Linked DNA regions of Homo sapiens: region 1 is linked to region 2. Evidence: promoter capture Hi-C in human tissues and cell types (Jung and others, 2019). All regions are on one chromosome and are shown on one strand. Each heading gives the region's core, a stretch centred on a gene start or on the middle of the fragment in contact. The rest is flanking DNA. Distances are from core to core; before and after follow the strand shown. Region 1 overlaps WDR7 (WD repeat domain 7). Region 2 holds the start of NEDD4L (NEDD4 like E3 ubiquitin protein ligase).

Region 1 (4,852 bases), core at 1,266-3,765, 1.3 Mb before region 2:
ATCTTGAGCATTGTTGTGCCAATCAGAATCACCTTATTTATAGGGGAAAATGATGAGGTTGAGGAAGTGGAAAAATGACCAGGATGATTTATCTTTTACCTTACATTTCTCTCATGTTGTCTAATTAGTCAAAAGTCTGAAAAAAAATGAATGTGCTATATTTGCAAAGGTCAGTAGCTTTGTATTCTGTGTAACGAGGCAAGAGAATGGAATTTAGAAGTCAAATATAACCTACTAAGAACATAGTCTGTGTTCTTTGCTTGCAAAATTCACTCTAAAAAAATTTGTACTGATTGAATAGACTTTATGATTCACTGTGAAAAGGGCACTGTAAGGTACAGACAGGGACAAGCCAAATGACATTGTGTACGGGATACCAGGCCTTGTTTAGTGAACTGTTTTTGTCCTTAGAAGAATTCTTATGATATGTATGACCTTTGAAGAATCAATTAAATTTGTTTAACATTCTGTCCCAAAACTTTAATGAATATTTTAATAGAAAATATGAGTATGTTGATAATATATTATTATATATTCATAAGTATGTAAGTTTTGTTTGTCCTCTGTGGTTATTGGGACAAAATTTTAAATTACGCCAATTGTTGTCTAGTCCCTAATAAATAAAGGAGCCTTAGCTAAGCTGTCCAGTCTTAAGAAAACAAAGGAGTAAATGCCTGTGACTGTAAGAGGGGAAATACATTTTCTCAGTCAAATAAAGGAAACGTTTGTCCCCTTCCATTCTGGAGAGATACTAGAAGTAATATTAGTCCAGTAATAAAATAATCATGATCTTCTAACATGCTTCTTATTAGCTTTGGTGATTATATGATATAGAGATATTTAAAACTTGGCCAGGCACGGTGGCTCATGCCTGTAATCCTAGCACATTGGGAGGCCGAGGTAGGCGGATCGTTTGAATCAGGAGTTGGAGACCAGCCTGGGCAATGGTGAAACCCTGCCTCTACAAAAATTAGCCAGGCTTAGTGGCACACACCTGTGGTCCCAGCTGCTCTAGGGGCTGGGGTGGGAGGATTGCTTGAGCCCAGGAGGTTGAGGCTGCATTGAGCTGAGATCATGCCACAGGACTATAGCCTGGGTGACAGAGCGAGACCCTGTCTCAAACAAAAACAAACAAACAAATTATTTTCAGTCTCTCACATGATAACAGAGATGATACTCTGAAAGAATAATGTTTGGGTATCATAATAGTTACACTCATAATTTTGATTGCTTTCTGAATCCTGGCACTTATAAGCTAAGAATAGCAATCAGGAAATTTCGCCTCCATGATTTGGCATATTAAAATATGGACTTTGTGGATTCTCTGAAATGTCCAGATCATTTAGATAGCATAAAATCCTTTTTTTTTTTTTTTTTTTTTTTTTGCAAAATGTGTTGTTTAACTTTTTGAATAGGAAACATTATGATTCCTATCTTTTAATTAAGATGTATTGAATGTTAACTCTTTTTTGGTAACTCAGTGCAAACATTGGTTATAATAATGCGTTCTAGATTTATCTGTTGATAAAATATTATCCACATTTACTTCCTTTCCAAGTTTCCTAGACTGCTGGATTTTTTTTTTCTAAATTGCTTCTTTATAAACCTTTTATCTCTTTGCTCTTCTCTTGACTATTATGGCCACTGCTAATCCCTGCTACTCTATCTCTGTTTTTCTCTGAAAACTGATATAGTAGTGTTTAGATCTACCATCTTAACGTTTGAGTTCCATTTCACTGTTTTTATGTTTATTTCTATTTTTTCTTGGCCTCTTTCAGATTCAGCAAATATATTTAAATTTTACTTTCCCCTTCTTATACTTGTTAGCTATAGATTCTGTTAGTATTCTTTTAGTTTTTGCCCTAGAGATTGTAAGTACATCTTTGACTTATTACAGTCTAAAACAAATTATTCCTATTAGAATTTCTCTGCTGGTGCTAGAGCCTTAGAACACTACAACTCCATTTGCCCCCCCTTCTTTTTACATTTTAGTTGCCATGCATTGTAACTTTACATATACTTTAAATTCCACTAGACATTATTATTGTTTTGTTCAGTCAATATTATTTAATATTCTTATATTTAAACTCTGTTCTTTTTGTACTTTACATTTTTATGTTTTCATCTAAGATCATTTTCTTCCTCGAAAGAACTACTCATTTCTTTTAGTACAAGTTTATTGGCATTGAATTTTCTCAGTTTTTGATTGTCTGAAAATGTTCTCTGTTTTTGAAGGATATGTTTGCTGATTATAGATTTTTAGGTTGGTGGTCTTTTGCACTGTAAAGATTTCATTATCTTCTCATTTCCATCTTTTTTTGGGGGGGGGAATAAGCTATCATTCTTATTGTTATTCCTTTGGATCCCCCCATTGCTATTAAGGTTTTCTATTTTTCCCTTGTTTTTTAGCAGTTTAAATATGACATACCTAGATGTGATTTTTTTTTTTTTTTGTATTTATACTGCTTGGAGTTGCCAGAGCTTTTTGAATCTGTAGGTTTGTGTCTTTCACTAGTGCAGGAAAATTCTTGAGGCCATTATCTTTTCAGATGCTATTTTCTTACCTCTCTTTCAGAAACTCCAATAACATGTAAATTAGACTGCCTCCTTTGCCCGTTTTTAAAAAATTGTTTTTCGTAGGTTTCATGTTCTTCTCTCTATTTTGTAATCTTTGTCTCCCTCTGTGTTTCAATGTATATATTTTCTGTGTTCCATAGTACTGTTTTCTGCTGTTTTTCCACAAACTCCTTTACTGAGTTATACTTTTAATTATTATTACTGTCTTTATTTCTAGGCTACCTACTTGATCCTTTTTTAAAAATTGATTTCAGTTATCTGCTGAAATTCTTTATCTTTTTATCTTCTTTTCCATCATTTTCTATATTTTCTTGAACATATTAATCCTAATTTTCTTAAAATCTTTATCTGCCAACTCTAATATCTGTATCACTGGTGACTCTCTTTTAATTGCCTCTAATTTCAGTTATATGCTGTAATCTCTTGGCATGTGTAGTAATTTTTTGTTAAATACCAGACATTGTAGGTAAAAAAAGTAGCTTGTTCAAATGATATCCTCTTCTAGAGGGGGCTCACCCTTTCTCTGCTGTTCAGATAGAATAAAGGCTGACCAACTTAATATAATCAGGGACTAACCTGAGTCAAGGCTAGGTTGCAGTATTTTAAATCTCTGCCTATCTGTGATTCTGCTTCTACTTCTCTAGTCCTTCCAGGGCTTCCAACAGAGAGCCCAGAATATTTAACGGGGTTCTTTTGCTTGTTGAGTCCTGAATCCTACTTCTTATCTTCTTAGCATGAGAACCCTGCCAAAAACTCCATTTTGCTTTCTAGAGACATTCTTAGTCTCCCCACACAGCTTCAGTATTTGGCATTTAACATGAATGGCCCTGTGTCAGCTTCTGTTTTCTTTCCCTCCCTTCTCTCTAGGATCTTGGTCCCTTGAATATTCAATTTTCTCTTTAGCCCCACAAGACTTTCAAAAGCTCTGTTGCTTTCTGTATTCCCAGTGATGGTCCTACTGCTTGCTTGATCTCTGCTTTATCCAAGGTACTTTAAAGCCAACATGTCTAAGATTGAACTCAAAATCATGTCCCATAGAACATTCCATTTCTCATTATTTTCTACTACCTAGTGGTGCAAACTGTGGCCTACAGGTCAATAGGGCCCTTGAGCTATGAATGCTTTTTATATTTTAAAAATATTATTAAGAATATGTGACATAAAGCTTTGTGGCCCTCAAAGTTTAAAGTATTTGCTATGTGGCTCTTTACAGAAAAAGTTTGCCAATACTTTTTCTGTCCTAGTAACTGTCATCACTGTTTGTCCCATTATCTATATTACAAATCCTAAATGTTATCGAATCATCTTCTCTTGAAAACCAATCCAAAATAATCTTTTGTCATTTTTATCTCCTTCTGAAAGCAGTCTTCTCTCTGCCTCTGCCACTCTTCTAGTTTATGATCTTTCCCCCAGATAATACCTTATGATTGATCTTTTTGTATTTAATCGGCCCTTCCTGCTCCTACAAATCTGACATCTGCTCCAAGTTCTCCATTAAAATAAAAGTCCACTGTCATAGGACTCACACACGTAGAAAATTACACTATATGTGGGTTGTGAGTGCATGTGCTCCTTTATGTATAAATGTATGTGTGCATCATGTGTGTATATTTCAGAGAGTTTGGGATGGATACTTTGAAAATTTCCAACTCAGGGTACCTTTCCACCAACTCTTCTCCAGTTTGAAGGAAATGAGTTTTAGGTTACTATGAATGCAATCTCAACCATTACATTACGGAACAAAACTAAATTCTCAAAACTAACTAAATATTTAATTCATATTTGCTAAGTTTCTGGTGATTACAGGATTTTTGGCTCTTTTCCCTTTTTAAGGATCCTTGAATTAGACATGACTGGATTTATTGTGATGATTGCATAATACCATCAAATAATGACATATACAACAGAACAACTCTTCCTGAAGCCTAATAAATCCTGTGGTTCTAGTGCCTTATTGACCCTGTGTGTTACATATAATAGGTGTTCAATGGATTTATGAATGGGATTCAGAGTTCATACTAAATATAATTCATCATATTCTGAGCCAAGGGGAAGCAGTCTTGTTCTTTGATGGTTTTAAATTCAGAGCAGTTTTGTTTTTCCTTGCAAATACATTAACAAAAATACACTATATTAAGAAGAAATATAGATTATTGTGGAATGTAGGTTAGACACAGCTGAGGAGAAATTTCTTTTACTATCTCACATCATAAATCAAATAGTAGAAAGCTGAGAGAATAGGGAGTGCTAGGTGGATTAAACCCTATGACTTTTC
Region 2 (5,034 bases), core at 195-2,694:
AAAGTGCTGGGATTACAGGTTTGAGCCACCGTGCCCGGTCTAAAGACTCGAGGTTTGAAAGGGTTGAAAAACCTCAGTATTGAAAGAATGGACAGAAATCTGACTTTTAAATAGTCCTCCATAAATAGTTCTCATTGGGGGTTTTGTGGCCTGTAAGTACTGTGGACTTGACGGCTCAAGACTTCTAGAGAAGGCTTCTGAGTAGGATGTTGACTCCATGGGGCTAAGTCGTCAAAGGAAACCCATTCTACGGCACAGGTTTTAAGCCAGTCATGCTGCAGGAAGGCAAAGGAGAGCTTAAGGTAGCATGGGTGGGCTCTTTTGAAAACGAACTAGCAGGGCGAACAGCAGATATTTAGTTATGTAGCTGGCAACGAGGAATATGATTCCTTCGGGTCACGCGAGTTCTCTCTGAACTTCCTTGAATGAAAATCCTAAATGCATCCTGGTAATACCCAAGTAGGCACTTTGACGTTTCCTTTTCAAAGGCAAATGGAATGTTCTGCGTCTGTTTTCTTTTTGAACTCCCAACTGCACTTAACATCTAAATTTAAGGAAAGGCTTCCGAAAAAGTCGACTGACGAATTTCTTTCACTTATTTAAAGTAGTCTCTTGCAGTCCTATAAATCGGAAGGATTAAATGAACTGCTTGCTAGAGAAACGGTAGCTGGGTGGTGGGAAGAATCCTACGGTGGCTAATAAGACGTCTCGATCATTTGCATATGCAAAGGATAACCTTAAGCTTGAGTTTGATATTTCACGTTGCGGCTCACAAATGAACTGCTTTTTATTCAAAGAACCATGCTGTCTGTTTTCGCGTGGGTGGGTGTGTAACCGGGGCGGGCGCTATGTTGGTTTTGTTCCCTGCAAGGTTGACACAGGCAATGGCGACTTGCGGCCACACTGGGGCAGCCTCTCCTCGGCTGGCAGCCGGGCCGGGCGGCTCGCTCCCGGGAGCTGACAATGTAGCCAAGTCCTGCTCGTCGGGGCCGCAAAGAATTTAAAGGGGTCTAGAAACATCCATCTTTTCCCCTTTTCACAGTTAACAGCGAGCTCAGGGCTCTCGGTAAAAAGACCACCGGGAGGAAGAAACGCTCAGGGCGTTTTTGTTATTGTTCGCAAAATCCTCTATCGCCCCCAAACGTCCAGCCCGCCCCCTCCCTAAAGCGGAGGGAAACCGGGAGAGGAGGGAGGGTCGGCGGCGCCGGCCAAGCGCGCCAGTACACGCCCCTGCGGATCCGCCCCGCGGCCGGGTGACCCCCGCCGCGCCGCGCTGGAGGCCCCGGGCCGGGGTGGGCGTGGGGCTGAACTCCGCCACCCCCGCAGCCCGCGGCCCGCTCGCCAGCCCGGCCTGTGATTGGCTTGGGGGGCGCGTGTGCCCGCCCCGGCGAACGGGGAGGGTACCCTCGCGGCGCCGGTGGGAGGAGGCGGAGGAGGGGGCGGAGAGAGCGGGGGCCCGGACGGCGCTAGCGAGGAGGCGGGCGAGCCGGGTCCCCGGGAGCGCAGAGGAGGCTCGGAGGGGGGCGGAGAGCGGCGGGGCGGGAGGGAGGCGCGGGTCGCGGGGAGGGAAAGCCCGGCCGGGTCTGCGCCGCCGCCGCGCGCAGTGAGAGGCGCCGGGGCTGCCGCCCGGTGCTCGGCGCGCTCTCGGGAGCCGCCCGCCCGCTGGTCCCGCAGCCTTCCGGGAGGAAGCGGTGCCGGCAGCGTCCAGGGCGCGCTCTCGGGCACCCTCACCTGCCGGCGCCCGGCCGCTTACCCGGCAGGGCGTGCGCAGGGTAGGGTGCGGGACCGGGGGGACCTGGAGGCAGAGGGGAGAACCGGCCGTCCGCGCCGCAGCACAGCCGCTGGGAGCGCCTCAGACCCCGCGCGGGGCGCCGGCTCCATGGCGACCGGGCTCGGGGAGCCGGTCTATGGACTTTCCGAAGACGAGGTGAGTGGCACCCCCTTCCTGCTCGGGACTCCCCGGGGAGTTCCTATCCCGCGCCGGCAGGGGGAGGGGAAAGGGGCCGTCCCCGGGGTGCTCGTGCCCAGCGTCTGCAGGGGAGCCCCAAAGCGGGAGCGCCCCGGAGCGGGATCCAGGGGAGCTTGGGTCCTTCCGCACCCCCCACCCTCCGCAAGCCGAGCTCATTGTTTGTAAATAAAGCGGCGCGACGCCCTTGGAGCTGGGGGTTCACTCCGCAGCTCCTCGCTTTCGGGAGGAGAGGGAGGGGGCATGCGTGCCTCTCTTCCCTCTTCCTCTCCAAGCAGCGTCTCCCGGGGCTGTTGGGCAACTTTCCGCCTCTCGCCCCTGCAGCCCGGGAGTCCATGATGCATGTCACGTCTGGGTCGCGCGGCTGGAGACCCGGGACTGCGGAGAAGCCGGATCGTTTCCCCCTGGAACTTTCTCTCTCATGATTGTGTGGATCAGCAGGCGCTCAGAAGCCTGTGCGTGCTTATCCCGGCGGGAATGGGGGACACGCTGCGTGTGTCCCTCCCCTCGTTTTGCAAAGTCTACGGCCAGGATTGTGGATTTCGGAGCCTCGGTGGGGGAGGTGTTCAAGGCTGGTGGCAGGTGCTCCTGGAAACTTGGGGAGGAAGCTTGCAGCCCTGCCATTTTTTCCTCCCGAGGATTCAAAGCCCGGCACCTCCAGGGTGGGTGGGGAGAGGAAAGCTTAATTGATCTCTTTTATTAATAAAGCGACTGAATAAGCCACGCCTCCCAGGCGGTCGGTTTCACTGGAAAGGGCTTTGTTTTTACCTTCATTCTCTCTTCCGTGTCTCCCACTCCCCCCTTTTGAAACAATCCTGCTAAATCACTGCCTAGTCCTCTCTCGACCAGCCACGCTCGGCTCTTATTGGTATGTTGCTCTGCCAAAAAGGGGGGTGGGACGCTTGTCGCGGGCGCGGCGTGACAGGCAGGCTGGATGGAGCAGGTAGGAGTGGTTTGCCATCTGGCGGGGTGCGCGCTCAGGTCTGGCTCCCCTTTCGAGAGGTGAATTTTACAACCCAAGAAGCATTACTCAGCAGGGAGGTATTTCCTATCCTGGTTGTGCATTTCATGAAAAGTTGATGCCTGGAAATTCAGGCGTTCTCGATTTCTCTTTCTTCCCCTCCCTCCTTTCTTTTCAGAGGTTCCCTCTTTCTCTCGTGTTGGGGGTGGGGTTGGAAGAAAGGCTATTATCTGAGACAGGCTCGCGTTATGGCTCCGCTTTCTGCGGCTCTCCTACCCTGGCATGGTGTGTGTGTGTGCCTGTGTGCTACGTAAGTGTGGAATGAAAGGTATTTTGGGGTGGGAAGGGTGTTTAGGGTATGAATTTTTTTCTTAGCGGTGCTAGGCAAAGCTTGATGTATTTATTTGATCAAAGAATGATCACAGTGCAAATAATGTGTGATTTGTGTGTTTATTTTGCCTCGCTGTGCTTTTGTAAAATAATTTCCCGTTTTGTGTAACTACCTGGGGATAGGTGACAGTAGCATTGTTTCATTGACCCGGGGGGCTTCTCCTCTCCCTCCTGGCTTCTCTCTTTGAGGAGCTTTCCCTTGCATCCTCTACTTCTCCATTTAATTAGTGGCAGTAGAGGGCAGGCCCTGAGTTGCAGAGACGCAGACATTCCTAAACAAAGGGGCTGCTTGGGTTGACGTATTGTGGGGGGTGGGGGTGAGGACAGCTGCATTTCATCCTAGGTTCTTTTAAAAAATGTTTTAATAACATGATTATTTGTAAAAACTCCCCCGAAAAAACGATTTTAAGAGTGTTTTGGGAAGTGCAGCTGGATAAATGAAACACGTTAATGTCACTGTTGTTTGTGCTTTATTTACATTGGCAGTGAGTGTCAGAATCTACCTAGAGCACATCTTGCCACTTTTGTCCACAGGAGTCACTACTAATCATCATAACTGATGTCTAGTGTGAAAGTGAAGCTTGGAATGTAAACAGAGTCCGAGTGTGTGTTGGCATGTGACTGGATTCACTCCTGCATGTTGCTAGAAGGGAATTTGGGGCTGTATAGGAAATAGCAAGAGGTGATGAAGACACCTTTTATTATCTATTTATTGCCATGTCGCTGGTAGTATTTAGTTCCACACACATTGTATTTCACAAGATGAGTCTCAGCCGTCTTCCTTTTTCAACTTTCTCCTACCAGTGAAAAAATAAGCCAGGGCAGTTCTGATGACTTCACATTTCATTGGTATTTGTTTTTCATGGGCAGTTTCATGCTGTCACGTTGCCCTTCAGAGAATCAGGGAATGCCTTCGTAGAATATTAACGACAAATTGTTGAATTTGCACAGCTTGTTTTGTCTCCCTGAATTAGTATGTGTAAGAAAAACCAATGGAAGATTTTAGCAGGCTCTGAAAGTAGAATGCCCGCTGAAGCAAACGGCAGGGTTGTTCTTCCAAGGCGTATTAAATATGGGTACACTTAGTTTGCAGACTTGGTGTGCTGCAGAATATCACATATGAAGATATTTTGACCGCTATTTAGAAGAGTGACCTCATAAATCTTTTAGCAAAGTAGACACACATACCTACCACATTTCTTAAAAGTAGATTCGTATTTTGATTTGAGATTGTTGAAAAGCATGGTATGTTTGGAGTGCACTTAGTTATGTCCCATCTCATAAAGACTGTTGAGCTCTCTGCACTGCTGATGATGAAGCATTGCATGAACCCAGAAAACGGGGATGCCAAAGCACAGGGCTTAGGTGCTGTTCCTTGCGTCATCAGCAGAGGTCTGTCCACTTTGTAGAAGGTAAGGGGTTGAGATGTGGGCTTTGCTTGTGTGAATGTATGTGCTGTTTAATTTTTTCTGTGTGTTTCGGGCGGAGGTTTCTCTGGTGAGTTATAATTCATATTTACCCTGATTTAAGTCATGTCACTTTAGGTAGCCAGATTCAAAACCATCAGATGAAGGACTTTTGGTGTTAGAGGGATTAGCAGTTTAACAAAACTTCTGATTCATGGCCCAAGATCAGATTTGGTTTGGAATCAGAACACTTTGGACTAGTTTCTGCATCTGGCTTGAGTCCTTGTGGATTTCTTGTTTTATTTCTTTAT

The links. The method cuts DNA at HindIII sites, captures the fragments that hold promoters and counts their contacts. A contact is called where the count stands out against the background at its distance.
Region 1: a fragment that was not itself captured here is called in contact with the fragment with the promoter of NEDD4L in region 2 in 1 of the 25 tissues and cell types used here (mesenchymal stem cells).

What each region holds. Positions count from the first base shown.
Region 1 is chr18:56,737,439-56,742,290 of GRCh38, forward strand. All of the region lies in intron 14 of WDR7 (WD repeat domain 7), which reads left to right. Among named protein-coding and RNA genes, the nearest start is that of WDR7, 89 kb to the left of the region's middle. The HindIII fragment of the contact is 4,184 bases long and covers 424-4,607 here.
Region 2 is chr18:58,042,782-58,047,815 of GRCh38, forward strand. NEDD4L (NEDD4 like E3 ubiquitin protein ligase) reads left to right here and starts at 1,445. Exons shown (of 31, transcript NM_001144967.3): 1 at 1,445-1,927. The coding sequence starts at 1,880. RefSeq lists silencers at 1,140-1,509, 1,530-2,079. The HindIII fragment of the contact is 3,203 bases long and covers 1-2,982 here.